2 separate regions of the Homo sapiens genome follow, and region 2 is linked to region 1. Evidence: promoter capture Hi-C in 16 types of primary human blood cells and fetal thymus (Javierre and others, 2016). All regions are on one chromosome and are shown on one strand. Each heading gives the region's core, a stretch centred on a gene start or on the middle of the fragment in contact. The rest is flanking DNA. Distances are from core to core; before and after follow the strand shown. Region 1 holds the start of CAPN12 (calpain 12). Region 2 overlaps RYR1 (ryanodine receptor 1).

Evidence for each region. Contacts are between HindIII fragments. The CHiCAGO score rates a contact against its expected background, and 5 or more counts as called.
Region 2: a contact is called between a fragment that was not itself captured here and the fragment with the promoter of CAPN12 in region 1, in 1 of 17 cell types (erythroblasts). The highest score is 5.1, in erythroblasts.

What each region holds. Positions count from the first base shown.
Region 1 is chr19:38,743,123-38,748,221 of GRCh38, forward strand. CAPN12 (calpain 12) reads right to left here and starts at 1,352. Exons shown (of 21, transcript NM_144691.4): 1 at 807-1,352. The coding sequence starts at 1,043. The HindIII fragment of the contact is 36,048 bases long and covers 1-3,753 here.
Region 2 is chr19:38,538,213-38,543,311 of GRCh38, forward strand. The region is part of intron 84 of RYR1 (ryanodine receptor 1); the gene reads left to right. Among named protein-coding and RNA genes, the nearest start is that of MAP4K1-AS1, 56 kb to the right of the region's middle. The HindIII fragment of the contact is 8,158 bases long and covers 1-5,099 here.

The DNA of each region.
Region 1 (5,099 bases), core at 102-2,601:
CAGGCCTCAGCCTGAGAAAGCGAGGAAAGGTCTCATCCAGAGGAGTGAGGGCCTCCAAGCCCATGAAAGGCCTGGAAGCCTGTGGGCAGGAGCATGGCTTCCCTGGGTCTCCAGAAGTTGTGCTGAGCCAGTCCCATGGTAGCCCCCTCCTCCCTCAGACCCGGGAGTCCAGGCCCAGCCCCTCCTCCCTCAGACCCAGGAGTCCATGTCCCGAGCCCCTCCTCCCTCAGACCCAGGAGTCCAGGCCCAGCCCCTCCTCCCTCAGACCCAGGAGTCCAGGTCCCGAGCCCCTCCTCCCTCAGACCCAGGAGTCCAGGCCCAGCCCCTCCTCCCTCAGACCCAGGAGTCCAGGTCCCGAGCCCCTCCTCCCTCAGACCCAAGAATCCAGGTCCCCAGCCCCTCCTCCCTCAGACCCAGGAGTCCAGGTCCAGCCCCTCCTCCCTCAGACCCCGGAGTCCAGGTCCCCAGCCCCCTCTTCCCTCAGACCCAGGTGTCCAGGCCTTGGCCTCTCCTCCCTCAGATCCAGAAGTCCAGGTCCAAGCCCCCTCCTCCCTCAGACCCAGGAGTCCAGGTCCCCAGCCCCTCCTCCCTCAGACCCAAGAGTCCAGGCCCAGCCCTTCCTCCCTCAGACCCAGGAGTCCAGGCCCAGCCCCTCCTCCCTCAGACCTAAGAGTCCAGGTCTCGAGCCCCTCCTCCCTCAGACCAGGGAGTCCAGGCCCCCAGCCTTCCTTCCTCAGACCCAGGAGTCCATGCCTCCAGCCCCTCCTCCCTCAGACCCCAGAGCCCAGACCCCAGCCACACTTTACATGGGGCCTCATCCATTTCACGCCTTTGGCCTTCTCCGAGTCCGGCCCCAGCTGGTCATAGCCAAGGGCATCAGGGCCAGCAGGGAAGTAAGGGTCGCGGAACAGGATCCCCGAATCCAGGCAGGCTGCCCGAATTGCCTCATAGCTCTGGCCCCGAAAAAGCTGCAGGCGCCCGGCTCCGACCCCAGCCTCCTCATCCACGAGCTGGATGGTGACCCTCCCACTGCTGGATGCCATCTGGACACTGGCCTCACAAGCCGGCACCAGGCCCTTTAACCTCCTGAGTCACGGGGGCGGGGCCTCTCTTCCATTGGAGCCCCAGTGGGGTCTTTAGGCAATGAGGAGCCTTCCCTCGTTAATATTAATTGATGGTTTGGGGTGCTGGGGAGCAGGGACGCCTCTTCAGTAGCTTTCTTCCCAGGGCGTGGGGCCTTCAGTTGTGGCCAAGGTAGCAGCTTAATGGGCTTGGCCAGCAGCAGGAGAGAAGGCGGGCAGAGCTGAGGGAGGACCGGCTGCCGCTGTCAGAGCACCAAGAAGGAGGTCAGTGTGGGGGTGAGCTTCTGCCTACTTATGCCTGTGGGGCTGGGGAAGGAGGCGGGTTTACCTCGGTGTCTCTATCTCTCAGACTGCCTCTCTCCCCCTCCCTCTGACAGTTTCTCTCTCCCCGCCTTCATGTTTCTTCTCCATCAGTTTCTGGAGTGCAGTGGCACGATCTCAGCTCACTGCAACCTCCGCCTTCTAGGTTCAAGTGATTCTCCTGCCTCAGCCTCCCAAGTAGCTGGGATTACAGGCTCGTGTCACCATGCCCAGCTAATTTTTGTATTTTTTGTTAGAGAAGGGATTTTACCATGTTGACCAGGCTGGTCTTGAACTCCTGGCCTCAAGCAATCCGCCCACCTTGGCCTCCCAAAGTGCTGGGATTACAGACGTGAGCCACTGTGCCTGGTCAGGTTTTGTTAATTAAAAAAAATTTTTTTTAAAGTAGAGACAGAGGGGTGGCGGGGGGCGGTCCCATATGTTCCCCAGGCTGGTCTTGAACTGCTGGCCTCAAGTGATCCTCCTGCTTCAGCAGCCTCCCAGAGAGCTGGGATTACAGATGTGAGCTACTGTGCCTGGCCCTTTCTTGTTTTTTGTTTCTGGCAATATTTGTGTCTCTGTATTTCCCCAACTCCACCCCTCTCCCCACCCCACCCTCTTTTTTTTTTTTTTTTTTTTTTTGTAGAGATGGGGCGGGGATCTCACTTTGTTGCCCAGACTGGTCTCGAACTCCTGGGCTCAAGTGATCCTCCCCGCTTGGCCTCCCAAAGTGTTGGGATTACAGGCGTGAATCACTATGCCTGTCCCCTCTCTCTTTGTGTCTCTTTCAGCGTGTGTCTGTTCCTCTCTGTACCTGTCAGACCCAGGAGTCCAGGCCCCCAGCCCCTCCTCCTTCAGACCCTGTCAGTGTACCTTGTGTCTGCCTCCCTGTCTCTTCCTCTCCATCTTTCTGTCTGTCCCTGTAACCCATATGTGGCTCCTCCATCATCCACCGAGGGACCCTGAGCTCCCCTCCGCTCACGCCCCCTAAGCCCTCAGGATGCGCCTCCTCCCCTCCCGGACAAGGTAGACTCAGCCTGCTTGCCCAGGGAGGCTGACCCTGGAGGGATGGCTCTGTACCTCTCCTGTGCTGGGAGCCATCTGGTGACCATGATGCCCTGCCCTGGCCCACGCCACTCAGAGTCTGGATGGAGCAGTATTTCCCCCAAAGGACTCTGGAGCCATTGGAGGAAATGGGAGAAACAGGTACGGAGATGCCAGAGCCTCAGCAGTGCTGGTCCCAGCAGACCTTCCACCCTCGTTGAGGGTGTCTGCTGCCCTCCCAGAGCCTTGTCACCTCCACGCCACTCAGATGTCCCTCAAGCCTTTTGGCCTTCTTCCCTCCAAGTGGACCCACAAATATTGTCCAAGCCACCCACGTACACGGCTACCAAAAGTGGGTTACAAAACAGGCTTTCTGGCTGGGCGTGGTGGCTCATGCCTGTAATCCCAGCACTTTGGGAGGCCGAGGCAGGCAGATCACCTGAGGTCAGGAGTTCGAGACCAGCCAGGCCAATGTAGTGAAACTCCGTCTCTACTAAAATACAAAAATTAGCCGGACATAGTTGCGGGCACCTGTAATCCCAGCTACTCAGAAGGCTGAGGCAGGAGAACCGCTTGAATCTGGGAGGCGGAGGTTGCAGTGAGCCGAGATTGTGCCACTGCACTCCAGCCTGGGCAACAGGGCAAGACTGCATCTCAAAAAACCCCCCAAAACAGGGCCGGGCATGGTGGCTCATGCCCGTAATCCCAGCACTTTGGGAGGCTGAGGTGGGCAGAACACTTGAGGCCAGGAGTTCAAGACCAGCCTGGCCAACATGGTGAAACACCATCTCTATTAAAAATACAAAAATTAGGCTGGACGCGGTAGTTTACTACGCCTGTAATCCCAGCACTTTGGGAGGCCGAGACGGGCGGGTCAGGAGTTCCAGACCAGCCTGGCCAACATGGTGAAACCCCATCTCTACTAAAAAATACAAAAAAATTAGCTGGGTGTGGTGGCACGCACCTGTAATCCCAGCTACTCAGGAGGCTGAGGTAGGAGAATCGCTTGAACCCGAGAGGTGGAGGTTTCAGTGAGCCAAGACTGCACCACTGCACTCCAGCCTCGGCAAGAGAGCAAAACTCCATCTCAAAAAAAAAAAAAAAAAGGCCGGGCACGGTGGCTCAAGCCTGTAATCCCAGCAGCACTTTGGGAGGCCAAAGCAGGCAGATCACGAGGTCAGGAGATCAAGACCATCCTGGCTAACACGGTGAAACCCCATCTCTACTACAAAAAATACAAAAAATTAGCCAGGCATGGTGGCGGCCACCTGTAGTCCCAGCTACTCGGGAGGCTGAGGCAGGAGAATGACGTGGACCCAGGAGGCGAAGCTTGCAGTGAGCCGCCACTGCACTCCAGCCTGGTTGACAGAGCAAGACTCTGTCTCAAAAAAAAAAAAAAAAAAAAAAATTAGCTGGGCATGGTGGTACACACCTGTAATCCCAGCTACTCAGGAGGGTGAGGCAGGAGAATCGCTTGAACCTGGGAGGCGGAGGTTGCAGTGAGCCAAGATCACGCCACTGCACTCCAGCCTGGGTGAGAGAGTGAGACTCCATCTCAAAAAAAAAAAAAAAAAAGTTTTCTTCGTGTAGGATTGCCAAGCCCACCCCAGCCCCACGGGAGTCATATGGGAGTGCTTCCAGCCTGCCGGGATTAGGAGCCACAGCACCTGGGGTCCAATCCCAGCTCTGCCACCTACACCTGTGTGTCTTTGGGCACATCACTTAACTTCTCTGTGCTTCAGTTTCCTCATCTCTGCAATGCGGATGATGATAGGGCGTACCTCGGAGGGTTGCTGTGGGAAGCGAATGAGTTCGTACGTGGGATGAGTTCAGAGAAGTGCCTGACACAGAGTCGCTGCTCACTGCACGAGGCATTGACCATGCCTTGGCGTTCAAGAGTGTCTGCTGCCCTCCCAGAGCCTTGTCACCTCCATGCCACTCAGATGTCCCTCAAGCCTTCTGGCCTCCTTCCCTCCAAGTGGACCCACAGATATTGTCCAAGCTGCCTACGTACATGGCTACCAAAAGTGGGTTACAAAACGAGCTTTCTGGCTGGGCGTGGTGGGTCACGCCTGTAATCCCAGCACTTTGGGAGGCCGAGGTGGGCGGCCTCGGCCATCCACAGTCAACCTGTCTCCTTGGATCTGGGCTGCTGTTTCTTTCACTTGTTTGTTGGTTTATTTTTTGGGACAGTCTCGCCTCGTCACCCAGGCTGGAGTGCAGTGGCGTGATCTTGGCTCACTACAACCTCCGCCTCCCAGGTTCAAGTGATTCTCCTGCCTCAGCCTCCCGAGTAGCTAGAATTACAGGCATGTGCCACCACGGCTGGCTAATTTTTGTATTTTTAGTAGAGACAGGGTTTCACCATATTGGTCAGGCTGGTCTTGAAAGCCTCACTTCAGGTGATCCACCCGCCTTGGCCTCCAAAAGTGCTGGGATTACAGACAGGAGCCACCGCGCCATGTCTTACTGTTTCTTTTTTTGTATTGTTTTGTTTTGTTTCTGAGACAGGGTCTGACTCTGTTGCCCAGGCTGGAGTGCAGTGGCACAATCTTGGCTCACTGCAGCCTTGACCTCCCGGGCTCAAGCAATCCTCCTGCCTCAGCTTCCTGAGTAGCTGGGACCACAGGCTTGTGCCACCATACCCAGCAAATTTTTAGACTTTTTGGTGGA
Region 2 (5,099 bases), core at 1,620-4,119, 200 kb before region 1:
CATGGTGAAACCCCGTCTCTACTAAAAATATAAAAAAAATAGCAGGGCGTGGTGGCACATGCTTGTAGTCCCAGCTACTCAGGAGGCTGAGGCAGGAGAATCGCTTGAACCCATGAGATGGAGGTTGCAGTGAGCCAAGATCGCACCATTGCACTCCAGCCTGGGCAACAGAGCAAAACTCCATCTCAAAAAAAAACCTCGCTGGAATTTCTGGAATCTAGCCACTTTGTTTCCCCCTCATCTCCTCTGGCCAGTCCAATTCCCCAAAAGCAACCTGCCAAAAACCAATTTGGCCAAAAATCAATTTGCCCAAATGGACAATTTGTCACATGCTATTTTCCCACAGGCGCTCTGCAGTGGCTGCCAAAGTTCTATACACGTGGTGGATTTCTGTACTTTAGGTCCAGAAAAGACCTAAGGGAAAAAACTGCCTGGCATTTAAAAATAAATCTATTAGAATCACTTGTTTATTTTGCTTATAAAATCTTTGCAGAGGAAAGATCTGTACAAAGGCCTACAGATTCTTTCCTATCTTAAGCAAGAGTTTTGTTTTGTTGTGGTTCAGCCAATTTAACAAGATTGAGGATGACAGCAAATTAATTACACAACATCAATGATGAGAAATGCAGTCTCATGCAGCAAACCTAGCTTACAACTTTACAGAACAGACAAAATTCTGCACAAAAAACATTCTACCCAATGCCATTTCCTATAACAAACATGTACAGTCTCAAGATTGTGGTTATAACCTTTAGCAGGTGATTAGGAAACCACAGACTACCCGGAAATCAACTTTCGTGACAAGAATTGGAGTAATTAGTAATCTTACTTCCATAGAACCTTCACCCACTTGGTTAGTGCTCTTTAAGGTAACTGATTTGTAAATATCTTTAATCTTCATTCTTTTTCTTTCAACAAAGGATAAAGTATGATCTCTTTGTCTTGAATTTTCAAAAGCTCTTGTGTCCACAACGAGTTTTTCAAGGTTTATTAAATACCTTTGTGCCATGGGACTAAGATTTTTTCTTTTTTTTTTTTTTTTTTTTAGACAGAGTCTCACTCTTGTCGCCCAGACTGGAGTGCAGTGGTGTGATCACAGCTCGCTGCAACCTCTGCCTCCTGGGCTCAAGTAATCCACCCCTCAGCCTCCCGAGTATCCAGGACTACAGGCATGCATCACCATGTCTGGCTAAGTTTTTTATTTTTTGTAGAGATGAGATCTCACTGTGTTGCCCAGGGGATCTCAAACTCCTGGATTCAAGCAATCCTCCTGCCTTGGCCTCCTAAAATGCTGGGATTACAGGTGTGAGCCACCATACCCAGCCGGGACTAAGATTTTCATTCTTTAATTTTAACTAAGATGGAATCAGTCTTTGGGTTTAAAATAAATTTTATTCCTCAGGAATATGAAGTTTTGAAAATGAGAATGTTGTTATGAAAGGGATTGCTGTCTCCCAACATATTTGCAACCCAGTCCTCGCCTAAATTCATGACCTAATCAAATAGATATTTGAAATATCTTTCAAATCTCAGACCCCTTGCATGTCTTGAGGAGTCAGTGCTATTCAAAGCAGACAAAAGGTTTGTCTCTCACTTATTTGCACATGTCTATAACAGGTGTTGTCAGTTGCCAGAATTTTTTTTACAGGAGCTGTGTATCTTTTATTTTTGCATATAGCCCAATTTAAATTAACACAATTTAATTTAACAATTTAAATTAACACAAATAAAGGAGTTAGAAAGCAGGGTTGATGGGAAAACCTGTACCTTTGCTTATAAAATTTTGAATATTTGAGTATGCTTTGTCTATGTCATGAAACTAGGCAAAATGGGCCTTCTGTTGAGCCAACCTGATAGAGCAATTGTGAACTGACTGTAAAAAAGTTAAGGGGAAAGAAAAACGGGGGGCAAAAATACTTTCAGGGGCTGTTAAAACCTTCCTGTGCAACATGATGTTGCTATAAACATTTAAAAGGACTTGGCTGGGCACTGTGGCTCATGCCTGTAATCCCAGCACTTTAGGAGGCTGAGGCAGGAGGATCACTTGAGCCCAGCAGTTCAAGACAAGTCTGGGCAACATAAGGAGACCCTGTCTCTACCAAAAAAAAAAAAAATCATATACTACAGTATAATAAACCTCCAATCATATACTACAGTATAATAAACCTCCAATCATATACTACAGTATAATAAACCTCCAATCATATACTACAGTATAATAAACCTCCAATCATATACTACAGTATAATAAACCTCCAATCATATACTACAGTATAATAAACCTCCAATCATATACTACAGTGTAATAAACCTCCAATCATATACTACAGTGTAATAAACCTCCAATCATATACTACAGTGTAATAAATCTCCAATCATATACTACAGTGTAATAAACCTCCAATCATATACTACAGTGTAATAAACCTCCAATCATATACTACAGTGTAATAAACCTCCAATCATATACTACAGTGTAATAAACCTCCAATCATATACTACAGTGTAATAAACCTCCAATCATATACTACAGTGTAATAAACCTCCAATCATATACTACAGTGTAATAAACCTCCAATCATATACTAAAGTGTAATAAACCTCCAATCATATACTACAGTGTAATAAACCTCCAATCATATACTACAGTGTAATAAACCTCCAATCATATACTACAGTGTAATAAACCTCCAATCATATACTACAGTGTAATAAACCTCCAATCATATACTACAGTGTAATAAACCTCCAATCATATATTACAGTATAATAAACCCCCAACTACCCATCACTCAGCTTTAACAGTTTGCTTTCACAGAACAATGTTTTTTAAATAGTGGGAACCAACCCATCAGACAGACGTTCATGAATCAGTTTCACGCAGAGGTTCTCATTGTAATTGTACACTGGCATGCCTGGGGAGCTTTAAAAGAGACTTAAGCCCAGGTTTTGCCTTTACAGGTTCTAATTCAATTGATCTGGGGTTGGGCCTGAGCACTGGGGTTTTTAAAAGCCTCCTAGTTGTCCTGATGTGCAGCCAAGGTTGAGAGGATGAGAAGCACACACTTCTTCTTTTGTAGTTAACTAGAGCAGTACAGGACAGAAAAGAACAGAATGCATGGCACAGAGTAAGGCAATGTGAAACTTCTCTTTCGGGAATAGGTGAATATAATTTCAGATTGAACACATGTATCAGGTCTCAATGTAAAAAGGATTTCCTCGGCTGGGTGTGGTGGCTTACACCTGTAATCCCAGCACTTTGGGAGGCCGAGGCAGGTGGATCACAAGGTCAGGAGTTGGAGACCAGCCTGTCCAATATGGTGAAACCCTGTCTCTACTAAAAATGCAAAAAAATTAGCCGGGCGTGGTGGCGCATGCCTGTAATCCCAGCTACTCAGGAGGCTGAGGCAGGAGAATTGCTTGAACCTGGGAGGCAGAGTTTGCAGTGAACTGAGATCATGCCACTGCACTCCAGCCTGGGTGACAGAGCAAGACTGTATCTCAAAAAAAAAAGGATTTCCTACCATAGATTGCAGTCAGAAAAGATTAAAAAATTACTGCACAAGAATATAAACTTCACAAGGGCAGGGGCTGGACATACGGCTCATGTCTGTAATCCCAGCACTATGGGAGGTCAAGGTAGGAGGGTTGCTTGAGGCCAGGAGTTCGAGACCAGCCTGGGCTGGTCTCAACAAAAAAATTAAAAATTGGCCGGATGTGGTGGCTCACACCTATAGTTCCAGCTACCTGGGAGGCTGAGGTGGGAGGACCACTTGAACCCAGGAGGTCAAGGCTGCAGTGAGCTATGATCATGCCACAGTACTCCAACCTAGGCAACAGAGGGAGACCTTGTCAAAAAAAAAAAAAAATCCCCCCCAAGGCCGGGGACTGTTTTTTTTTTTTTTACTACTGTATCCCCAGAGCCTAGAATACTGCATGACACATAGTAAGAACGCAACAAATTTGTTGTAGCAAAGAGGATGTGACAATCTTAATCTCGTGAGGATGTAGTATACACTCAATAAAATATGTTGAATAAATGAACAAGTGACCAATCCATATGTTCCCTGGCCTTTAGTAGGTGCTCAATAAATATTTGTTGGATAAATGCATGAATATCCCCAGCACATAGGAGGAATTTGATAAAATTGTTTGGAAACTAACGAGGAACTGAATCTCTATTTCTCCCTGCTACATAGTTGGTGGTCAATATACAAATTTGTTGGAAAAAACTGAATGAATAAATGACGCTCCACCACATTTGACACATAGCAGGCCCTCAATAATATTTATATTTTATTTTTTTATATTTATTTATTTTTTGAGACGGAGTTTCACTCTTGTTGCCCAAGCTGGAGTGCAGTGGCATGATCTAGGCTCACTGCAACCTCTGCCTTCCGGGTTCAAGCAATTCTCCTGCCTCAGCCTCCCAGGTAGCTGGGATTACAGGCACATGCCACCACACCTGGCTAATTTTGTATTTTTTTTAGTAGAGACGGGATTTCACCATGTTGGCCAGGCTGGTCTCAAACTCCTGACCTCAAGTGATCCACCCACCTGGGCCTCCCAAAGTGCTGGGATTACAGGTGTGAGCCACCGCTCCCAGCCTATTTTAAAATTATTTATTTATTTATTTATTTATTTTTGAGACGGGGTTTCCATCTTGTTGCCCAGGCTGGACTGCAATGGTGAGATCTCCACTCACTGCAACCTCTGCCTCCGGGGTTGAAGCGATTCTCCTGCCTCAGCCTCCCAAGTAGTTAGGATTGCAGGTGCCCACCACCACACCCAGCTAATTTTTGTATTTTTAGTAGAGACGGGGTTTCACCATGTTGGTCAGGCTGGTCTCAAACTCCTGACCTCAGGTGATCTGCCTGCCTGGGCCTCCCAAAGTGCTGGAATTACAGGCGTGAGCCACCCGGCCAGTATTTTTAGACAAATGAATAAATGATCATCCATCTTTCTCTGTCACATAGTAAGTACTTGATAGTTATTAAATAAATTGATGATGATATGCTTTCTGGCATACAATAGGAACTCAACACATGAGTATTGCATAAATGAATAAATGACCCACTGTTCATCTCCCCTAGCACATG